3 separate regions of the Homo sapiens genome follow, and all the other regions are linked to region 1. Evidence: promoter capture Hi-C in human tissues and cell types (Jung and others, 2019). All regions are on one chromosome and are shown on one strand. The core of a region is centred on a gene start or on the middle of the fragment in contact, and the rest is flanking DNA. Distances in the headings are between cores, read along the strand shown. Region 1 holds the start of MAPK13 (mitogen-activated protein kinase 13). Region 2 holds the start of PXT1 (peroxisomal testis enriched protein 1). Region 3 holds the start of ETV7 (ETS variant transcription factor 7).

The links. Contacts are between HindIII fragments. The study calls those that stand out against the background at their distance.
Region 2: the fragment with the promoter of PXT1 here is called in contact with the fragment with the promoter of MAPK13 in region 1 in 1 of the 25 tissues and cell types used here (thymus).
Region 3: a contact is called between the fragment with the promoter of ETV7 here and the fragment with the promoter of MAPK13 in region 1, in 2 of the 25 tissues and cell types used here (heart left ventricle and ovary).

Annotation. Positions count from the first base shown.
Region 1 is chr6:36,129,010-36,132,077 of GRCh38, reverse strand. MAPK13 (mitogen-activated protein kinase 13) reads right to left here and starts at 1,565. Exons shown (of 12, transcript NM_002754.5): 1 at 1,377-1,565; 2 at 678-807. The coding sequence starts at 1,495. RefSeq lists enhancers at 1-89, 800-919, 811-1,414 and silencers at 560-669, 1,310-1,379, 1,420-1,669. The HindIII fragment of the contact is 28,110 bases long and covers 1-3,068 here.
Region 2 is chr6:36,441,253-36,444,320 of GRCh38, reverse strand. PXT1 (peroxisomal testis enriched protein 1) reads left to right here and starts at 1,467. Exons shown (of 5, transcript NM_152990.4): 1 at 1,467-1,786. KCTD20 (potassium channel tetramerization domain containing 20) reads right to left here and starts at 1,321. Exons shown (of 8, transcript NM_173562.5): 1 at 1,210-1,321. RefSeq lists enhancers at 204-263, 869-968, 2,453-3,000 and silencers at 1,129-1,418, 2,577-2,646. The HindIII fragment of the contact is 9,351 bases long and covers 1-3,068 here.
Region 3 is chr6:36,386,259-36,389,326 of GRCh38, reverse strand. ETV7 (ETS variant transcription factor 7) reads left to right here and starts at 1,658. Exons shown (of 8, transcript NM_016135.4): 1 at 1,658-1,791. The coding sequence starts at 1,786. ETV7-AS1 (ETV7 and PTX1 antisense RNA 1) reads right to left here and starts at 2,707. Exons shown (of 2, transcript XR_926758.3): 1 at 2,397-2,707. RefSeq lists a silencer at 1,428-1,637 and an enhancer at 1,764-2,587. The HindIII fragment of the contact is 5,079 bases long and covers 1-3,068 here.

The DNA.
Region 1 (3,068 bases), core at 316-2,815:
TCATTCTTTGAAATGTCTGCCCTCCAATCTAGGTATCCTGCAGCAAAGCCTGGCTGCCAGGCCCTGAGCTGGGCCCCTGGTTTTCCCAGCTGCTTCTATCAGACAAGACAATCTGATGGTCATGTGCTCAGACCGGGAGCCTCGCTGCCGAGATTGAAACCCCAGCTCTGCTACTGACTAACCATCTAATCTGTGAGCCTTGCTGTGCTTTAGTTTCCTGTCTGTGACATGGGGGCAGTAGTACTCATATATCATGAGGACTAGACAAGTTAGTGTATGCAGAGCTCTTAGAACATAGGAAGTGCTCAATATGTGTATATTGCTATTGTTATCAGGGTCACGTGGACACAACGCTAACTAGGATTCTAGTCCCAGCTGGCCACAAGCTCTCAGACATGGAACCAATTACAAAGTTCCCCTGTGCCAATTTCCTCTGTAGGATAACACAGTCTGTACCTCACAAAGTGCATTCTGCCAAAAATACCCTTTGACCTCTTCCTGGAAAGTGGGCAGGGAAGGTCTCGGCACCCCCTCCTTTCAATAGTGAGGCGAGAGGCACCGTCAGGGGAGCAGGGAGGAGACTGTCCCGAGCTCTCCATACCGGGAGGCCCCGCCTGCGCCTGCCCCTGACTCCCCAGGGCAGCCCCCACCCCCTCCCCGGGGCAGCCACCACCTACGTTCTCATGCTGCATGTGCTTCAGCAGCAGCAGCTCCCGGTAGGCGCGCTTGGCGAAGATCTCGGACTGAAAGGGTCGGCTCAGCTTCTTGATGGCCACCTTCTCCCCTGACCGCTTGTCGATGGCCGAGCTGTCGGGCACAGGCCGGTCAGCAGGCGAGGCTCTCCTCCTGGGCCGTATCTCCCAGACCGCCCTGACCCCTCCCACTGGGCAGCTGGGCTGAGAGGGGACTAGGCCCACCACCTAGAATATGGGGGAGCCGCGGGACGCAGGGCAGGGAGTAGGAAGCCAGGCAGGAGCTGAGAGAGGGGCACAGCGCCAGGGGCAGCAACGTCTCATTGCGACGGGATCCACGGCAGGGCGGGAGTCTCACTCTGTCTGCAACTTGGCGAGCCACCTCCCCCTCTTGGGGCCTCGGTGTACTCGTCTGTAACAGTGAGGATCTGCCCGATGAACTCTGGGGTCTTGCAAGTGTACAGTCCTGGAGAACCAGGCCCAGTCCCAACTCAACCCCCAGAGACCTCACTCAGCCACTCGGTGAGAAAAGGGAGATGGCCGCTGGGTGGCCCCGGGGAGGGCGCTGGGCCTTGAGGTCCGCGGTCAAGGTGGCGCTGGCGAGGGGCCAGCCCAGGGCGGGCTGGGCGGAAAGGGGAGAGCCTGGCGCCCGCCCCCCGCCCCCCAGCGGCCCAGGGGTCTCACCACACGGAGCCATAGGCCCCGCTGCCGACGTGCGTCGGGGACACGTAGGTCTTGGGCAGCTCCCAGGCTGTCTTGTTGACGTCCTGCTTGTAGAAGCCCTTTTTCCGGATGAGGCTCATCCCGGGCACCCGATCTCGGCGGCCCCAGCGTGGCGGCTGCGTTCGCGGCCCAACGGGCTCCCAGCGCCCCGACCCCCGCTGCGCCCGCCCCGCGCCGCCCGCTCCTCCCCCGCGCGAGGGCGGGGGCCCCGGGCTGCTACGCTCCCACCTGCCGGCTCGCCCAGGTGCGCCGGGGCCGCCACGCCCGGGCCTGTCCAGCCCTGCGCTCCCGCGCTTCCGCCCGGCCCGACGGAGCCACTGCGGCAGGTGCGGCCCAGGCACGGGGTCGGGGCTGCCCAGCGGGACCCCGGTGCCTCCCAGCCGAGCGCGGGCCAGCGGCGGGGCTGGTGGGTCCAAGCAGGAGCGGGGAGGCAGTGCTTCCCAGTTCCCTCCAGCCCCGGTCTCCGTAGGAAGAGCTCCCTGTGACTGTGAACACACAGGAAAGCAGAACAAAACCCCACAACCTCTTCATTATGGAAAATGTCAAACATGCAGGAAAGAATTGAACAGAGTAAGCCAGCGCTTCTCACACTTCAGTGTGCTCAGGAATCCCCTGGGCATTTTATTTGATTAAAATACAGATCCTGACTCAGTAGGTTTGGGGTGGAGCCGAGATTCTGCATTTCTAGCCAGCTCCCAGGTCTGAGGCTTCTGAACCACATCTGATAGGAGGTTCTAATGAACCCCCGTGACCCCAATTCCCCAGCAACCACAACTCATAATCAATTTTATTTCATCCACATTCCTCTCCCACCATCGTTTTGAAGCAAAACCCAGGCGTCATATCATTTTATTCATAAATATTTTTGTATCTCTAAAACGTAAGGATTTTTAAAAGTACGTATCCACAATACTATATATATATATTTTTTGAGACTCTGTCGGAGTGCAGTTGCCATCTCGGCTCACTGCAACCTCCGCCTCCCGGGTTCAAGCAATTCTCTGCCTCCGCCTCCCGATTAGCTAGGATTGTAGGTGCCTGCCACCAAACCCGGCTAATTTTTGTATTTTTAATAGAGATGGGGTTTCACCATCTTGGCCAGGCTGGTCTTGAACTCCTGACCTCGTGAACCACCCGCCTCGGCCTCCGAAAGTGTTGGGATTACAGGCGTGAGCCACCGCGCCTGGCCCACAATACATTCTTAAACCTAAAATTAATAGCACTAATTCTATAATACCAAATATCCACGCAGGTTCAAATGTGCAGGATTTTTGTTTGTTTTTGACATGGAGTCTCACTCTATTGCCTAGGCTGGAGTGCAGTGGCGCCATCTCAGCTCACTGCAACCTCCGCCTCCCAGGTTCAAGCAATTCTCTTGCCTCAGCCTCCTGAGTAGCTGGGACTACAGGTGCACACCACCACTCCTAGCTAATTTTTGTATTTTTAGTAGAGACGGGGTTTCACCATGTTGGCCAGGCTGGTCTTCAACTCCTGACCTCAGGTGGTCCGCCCACCTCAGCCTCCCAAAGTGTTTGGATTACAGAAGTGAGCCACCGCACCTGGCCCAAATGTGCAGTTTTGAACACAGTTTCTGTGGACTTCCTAAGGCTCTATGAGGACAATGACTAATTGGGGCCCTTGCCACCTGTCTGG
Region 2 (3,068 bases), core at 218-2,717, 310 kb before region 1:
GGCAGGGGAGGAAAACATCGACAAAGGGTTAAGGCTGTTGGGCAGTTTTTAAAATTCCCAGCCCAGCCTAAAGGTGGTGTCTGTCAACGTGTGGTCGGTCCCTGGATCATCAGTAACAGACCAAGAGTGCAGGTGCTTGCTTAAATCCCAGACTCAGGGACCCATCACAAATCTCTAGAATCAAATTTATGGAAGAGGTGCTAGGGTACTGCAACCTTATTACTAAGGAACAATCTTCTGTTTCAGAACTATGGCCTAGGAATTGGGGTTTCAGGTGGGGGCCTTGAGCGGAAGTCCTCTGACTCTGGATTCATCACATCCGACAGACACTACTACAACACTTTGTTTTGAAGACCATTAAAAAACTACCTCAACTTCTCGCACAGCGAACAGGAACAAAACTAAGGACTCTGGGACATATTTTCATAAGCTGGTTAAACAGTTCCTTCACAGCCTTGTTTATCATGTTAGTTTGTTCACTAGATTCTTATTTAAAAATAAATCTCTTCAACTGAGGAATTTTCAGAAAGAATCACAAACTCCAAAATAGAAGAGTTTTCTCATAGTGCAGAACTGGGCTTCTAAACCTGAAGACACTGCTATAAAAAGCAAAGTTTTATTTAAAAGAAAATTGCTGGTTAAGGCTTTCCCCAGCTCTTTTGCACTCAGAGCCACGGATGAAAGCTGGCAATTTGCGGGTGGCAGGGAAGGAAGACGCGGAAACAGGGCTGAAAAGACCGAGCAAAATGCGCTCGGCTCCAGAGTTCAGGAGGAAGTCCCCACCAACTACCTAATTTTTAATGGAGCCAATTAATTGCCAGAAAAACCGCGTCTGCAAATGTTTTGCCAGTCAACACTCCAGGTTCTCGCCATTCCTCTCCGGCGGGATGAACCACCCGAGGCCTGCAAAAAGCAGTCAAGCAGTCAAGTTACACTTCAGCTGTGCCCACCACCTGGGCGCAGCGTCGCCTCCCTCCCCAGGATCACCAGACTCTGCCCTCCGCGCGGAAACAGGAGCCCATCAAGCCGCTGCCCACAGGTTCCTCGCGCCCAGCTCAGCCCCGCGGCCTTTCGACTCGGGGGTCCGAACCGCCGCCGCGTCCGGAGGAGACGCCCCCTCGGCCACAAAGGGAAGACTCGGGCCACGCCCGCCGCCACACTCTCCCTGCCCGGTCTTCGCGCCCGAAACCGTACCGCGCCGCCACTTACTCGTCGCTCCCCGCCGCGCTGTCCCGCTCGGGGCTGGAATCCGCCCGGGAGGCGCGCGCAGGCCGCGCAGCCAGAAGCCGCAGCCGGGACCGGCTGTGCCGCAGCGGCGCGCGCCCCCCGCCCCGGACCGCGCGGCCACGCGGCTGAGTCACCCAGCGCTTCACGTTAAGAGTCCCCTCCGCGCGTGGCACGCCGGGAAGGCCGTGTCTGGGGACCCCGTCCGGGGCCGCACCGTAAATGGGTGTCGCCTTTCCTCCAGTCCACTCTGCACCCAACCTCAGCGGGCGCACTTTTCTGAGTTGCGCATACCCTCTCAATTATTAAAGGTTGCAGACGGAAAAGTTAGTAGTTTTCGGAATTGTAGAATACGCTCGTGCAGCGCCAGGACGGCTAATGCTTACCCGAAAATGTGGAACCCTGATCTCCCCATGCGTGGAGCGAGGTTGGAGGTAGCGTAGTAAGAATACTGGAGTTGCTTAAACGCATTTGCTCGAAAGTCACTACCCTGGATATACATTCTGGCCAAAAGAAAGGGGGAAAAACTCCACATTTTTCTCAAATACTGAGTTTCATGAAGGTACCTGCTATTACAAAGGTGTATTACAAATTTTAAATCAACCGGAAGCAAGTTACTGGGAAAACTGTGTTATGAGTAAAAGATTTCAGCATTCAAAAAACATCTATATATGGTCCATGTCCTATGAACCAAATGCTGGAAAACCCAAAAGGAAGTTCTTATTGTCACGGTTTCTAGTGGCTTTTGTACTTTTAAAAATTACACTAGGCCGGGCTTGGTGGCTCACGCCTGTAATCCTTGCACTTTGGGAGGCCGAGGCGGGCAGATCACCTGAGGTTGGGCATTCCAGACCAGCCTGGCCAACATGATGAAACCCTGTCTCTGCTAAAAATACAAAAATTAGCCGGGCGTGGTGGTGGGCGCCTATAACCCTAGCTGTTTGGGAGGCTGAGGCAGGAGAATCACTTGAACCCAGGAGGCAACTGGGAGGTTGCAGTGAAGTTCCCTCTCAAATATATATATATATGTCTATATATACTAATTAAATATACTGATTATGCAAACTATTTGTAAATTGTTGAAAGCTCTATAAACTAATAATAGCACAAATTTTAAAATTCGAAGTCGATTCTCCTTTTCCTTACAAGAGACTCTCTGAAAACTAATTTGGAATTGGATTAGAATTGGTGTTGAAGTGGAAGGAATGTAAGAAAATAGTTTGACTCAGTAGGTTTCACACGGTTAACGGATACTTGTATAGCAAATTTGTTTTATCAGGGTCAAAAAATTTAATTTTCAAAACTGAAGACATAAATTTTTTCATTATAATTTGGTCTTAGAGGCCTAGAGGGTCATTTTCCATTTCTATTCTCCCTCGTTTATGACTATAAAGTATGCAGGACTGTATTGTGTTTATCTCAACATGGACTAGGCTGTGAGGCTGCACTCGTCATCTGTAAGTCAGTCTCACGTCCCCATGGTGACTCAGCTTCCCTGCTGCTTGCGTCAGTGGCTCTGCCCTCCCAGCACTTCCGGGCTGGCAGAAGAGCTAGATTGGAGAATCCTGTAAGGGCTCTCCTTTGCCTCTGCCAGAAGTGAGTGGCCTTTTCACTTCTGCTGACGTTTCACTGTCCTGAACTAGTCACCAGGCTCAACCTGACTGACTCTAAGAAGGCTGTGAGATATAAATTCCTGTATGCCTGGAGAAAAGGAATATGAAAAAAGATTTAGTAAACACATGGCTATAAACCAATTTGAGTGAGTTATAGGCTCCAAACTTTACAACAGTAGCAGCATAGAGGATTGTTCAAACTAATGCCTTTATTTCCATTTTTATAAAGTA
Region 3 (3,068 bases), core at 409-2,908, 260 kb before region 1:
ACTGCACTCCAGCCTGGGCGACAGAGTGAGACCCTGTCTCTAAAAAAAAAAAAAAAATAGAAAATTAAAATTAAAAGAAATGAATGTGCATTAGTTTATCAAGCCTCCTTTTGTGGACACCTGAGTTATTTCTCATACTTTGCTATTATAAACCATGATTAAATAAGTAACTATGTATACTTTGGATATTTGTTGAATAAATTTCTGGTAGGCAGATTGCTGGGTGAAAGGAAAATGCATTTGTAAATTTGCCAGACCCCGCTGTGGGGTTGCACCACTTTACCTCAGCTTTTCCAGCAGATTATGTTAGTAAACTTTTAAATTTTTGCCAAATTTATGGGTAAAAATTTCTATCTCAGAATAACTTTAATTTGCACATTTAAAATAGTGAGTTTGTCTGAGCATCTTTTTCTTTCTCTGCTGCCCAGGCTGGAGTGCAGTGGCACAGTCACGGCTCACTGCAGCCTCCAACTCTCAGGCTCAAGCGATCTTCCATCCTCAGCCTCCTGAATAGCTGGGGCTACAGGTGTAGCCCCACCATGCCCGGCTAATTTTTTAAATTTTCAGTAAAGACAGGATCTCACCATGTTGTTCAGACTGGTGTCCAACTCCTGGGCTCAAGCGATCCTCCCACCTTGGCATCCCAAAGTGCTGGGATTACAGGCATGAGCCACTGCACCCTGGGCATCTTTTTGTATATTCAGGAGCCATTTGGCATTTCCTTTTATGTGGACTGTTTATTCATATCCTTTGCTCATTTTTTTTTCCTACTGGGTTTCTGGCCTTGTTCTTACTGGTTTCTTATTGCTGGCCTAGAGCTTGTGATGATATACCAGTGCTAAGCCTACTTTGTAACAGCGTCTACACCCTCAGATTTTCAGCAGAAGGTTGTTAATGCTTTTCTTTCCTTTTCTTCGGTGTCTTCTGGTTTGTTTTTATGCGCACAACCTCTCTTGAGACAGGGGGAGCTGAGACAGATGGAAAGGGTGATGGGTGGGCAGGCACCAACCCCGGAGCACCCAGAGGCCCAGGAAAAGGTGTCAGTCGGGATCTCCGAGTAGTCTGGCCCTGCTCAGGAGAGCACAGCCGCTCTGATGGTGGTGCGACGGTTCCGGACCTGTGGGGCCTCAGCGGGGCCAAACGGCAGGCCGAGACAGTATCGGGGCCGGGAAGGTCACTCACCCCTAAAGGGAGAGGCACCATGCGAGGCCCCTTCCTATCCTATGTGCGGAGACTCACAGGGTCCTTCCTGGTCCTGGGCTCGGGACCGTGAGAGACGCAGTTGGTTCCGAGTTCAGGACTAGGGGTCCCCTTAGATCCTCAGATCCTGCAGAATCCCGGCTCTGCCCCAGTGGGAGCCAAGGCCAGGTCGCCAGAGGGACTGTCCGCCGGCTGGAGGCTGTGTGCAGGACCCACGCCTCCCAGGCTAGCGAGCGGGCAGCGCCCCGGTGCTGCGCTCCCACGGGGCCGGCCCCTGCCCTGCCCTGCCCTGCTCCTAGCCCGCAGCGGCGCAAGTGGAACCGCATCCCGCTCTTTCGTTTTCGTTTCCCGGAAGGATAGCGATTACCGGAGCGCCTCGCGCGCCTGCCCGCCTGCGGAGGACCCGGGCGCACACGCCTTGGCGCTTCTCGAAAGAGATTTCCTCCCACGCGACCTTCCAGTTCTCGGAGCCAGGTTAGGGGTTTGGCGGAGGAGGACTGCGGGGCGCGGGCCTAGGGCCCCAGCAGCCACAGCCAGGGGAGCGCTCAAGACAGAAAGCCGGTGGCTTCCTCACCTCCACCTGTAATGCAGGTAAGAGCCTGGCGGCTGAACACGCAGCGCGCACGCAGAGCCACCTGCTCCCGCATCCTTTCCTCACCACCTAGATTTCCAAACCTATTTTATCAGACCTTTTACCTGGCGGGAATCTCTCTTTCCAACACATTCCTAAACCTCACATCCATCCCTCACTCACTTCCCCTTCCACCTCCAGACGCGGGTCACCGCCCCTGACTCTCTCGGTGTCATACACAGCTCTGAAGGCATCACGCACAGCCCCTGCGGGCCCTTTCCGCAGCCCCCTTACCACTGGTCGCCCCTACACCAACCAGATGTGAGGTCTTTGGAAGTTCGTGCGCCAGCCAGGTCCTCACAGCTGGTGAACGCATTCTCGCAGGGAGCCCCTCTTTAGCAGCCTCTCCCCACTCGCCGGTTTTCTAGGTGCCTCGAGACTGCCCCCAGAGCTGGCGCCCCGTCCCACTCCAAGGCCTTTCTCCACTCCCCTCTCGCCAGGACCCATACCCATTATCAGACCCTTCCCTGGCCTCCATGCTGAAACCCAGGAGTCTGATCCTCAGCAGCTCCGTGGCTGGCGTTTCCCAGGCAGTTACAGCCTCGGAATTCCCCGCTCCTCTTACTTGGATGAGGACAGAGGAGTAGACAAAGAGCCTCCTGCAAGCCTCCTTGGCAAGTCCGAGGCAAGTCCTGTGCCTTGAGCCCCTTCTCCAGCAAGGCAAGCTTCCCTTTCCCCACCAGGAGGCAACCCCTGAGGTCTGATTACTTGGGAAACAGCACCAAAGGGGGACCGGCTGGAAATGAAGTGAGAACGACCCGGAAAGGTGTTGAATCCCCTTTCGCAGCAGCCAAGGCTTCTGGAGTTTGCTTTGCTGGCTCCGATCCAAATTCTCTCTCGGCAGATATCTCTCCTCGGATCCCAAGAGATGAATGTAAAGCTTTTGACAATCCTAGAGTGAAAAATGACTTGATGGAGCTGGTTTCACTTTTCCTTTCCGTGCTGTGGCAGCCTGTGGCTGGGCATGAGCCCGAAGGAGCTTCCTATTCCTACAAAATCCTGCCACTTTCTTCATTTTCTCATCTGAATGGATGAACCCCGTCATCTCTGGGGGCCATGCTGATTGTTGAATTGTAAAGATACAGGCTTCCCGTGGTGAGACCTTAGGATTCAGAAATGTATCCTTATCCTTTCTTTTTCTCTTTTGAAAATAGTGTTTGTTTGTTCTGAGACGGAGTCTTGCTCTCTTGCCCAGGCTGGAGTGCAGTGGCGTGATCTTGGCTCACTCCAACTTCCG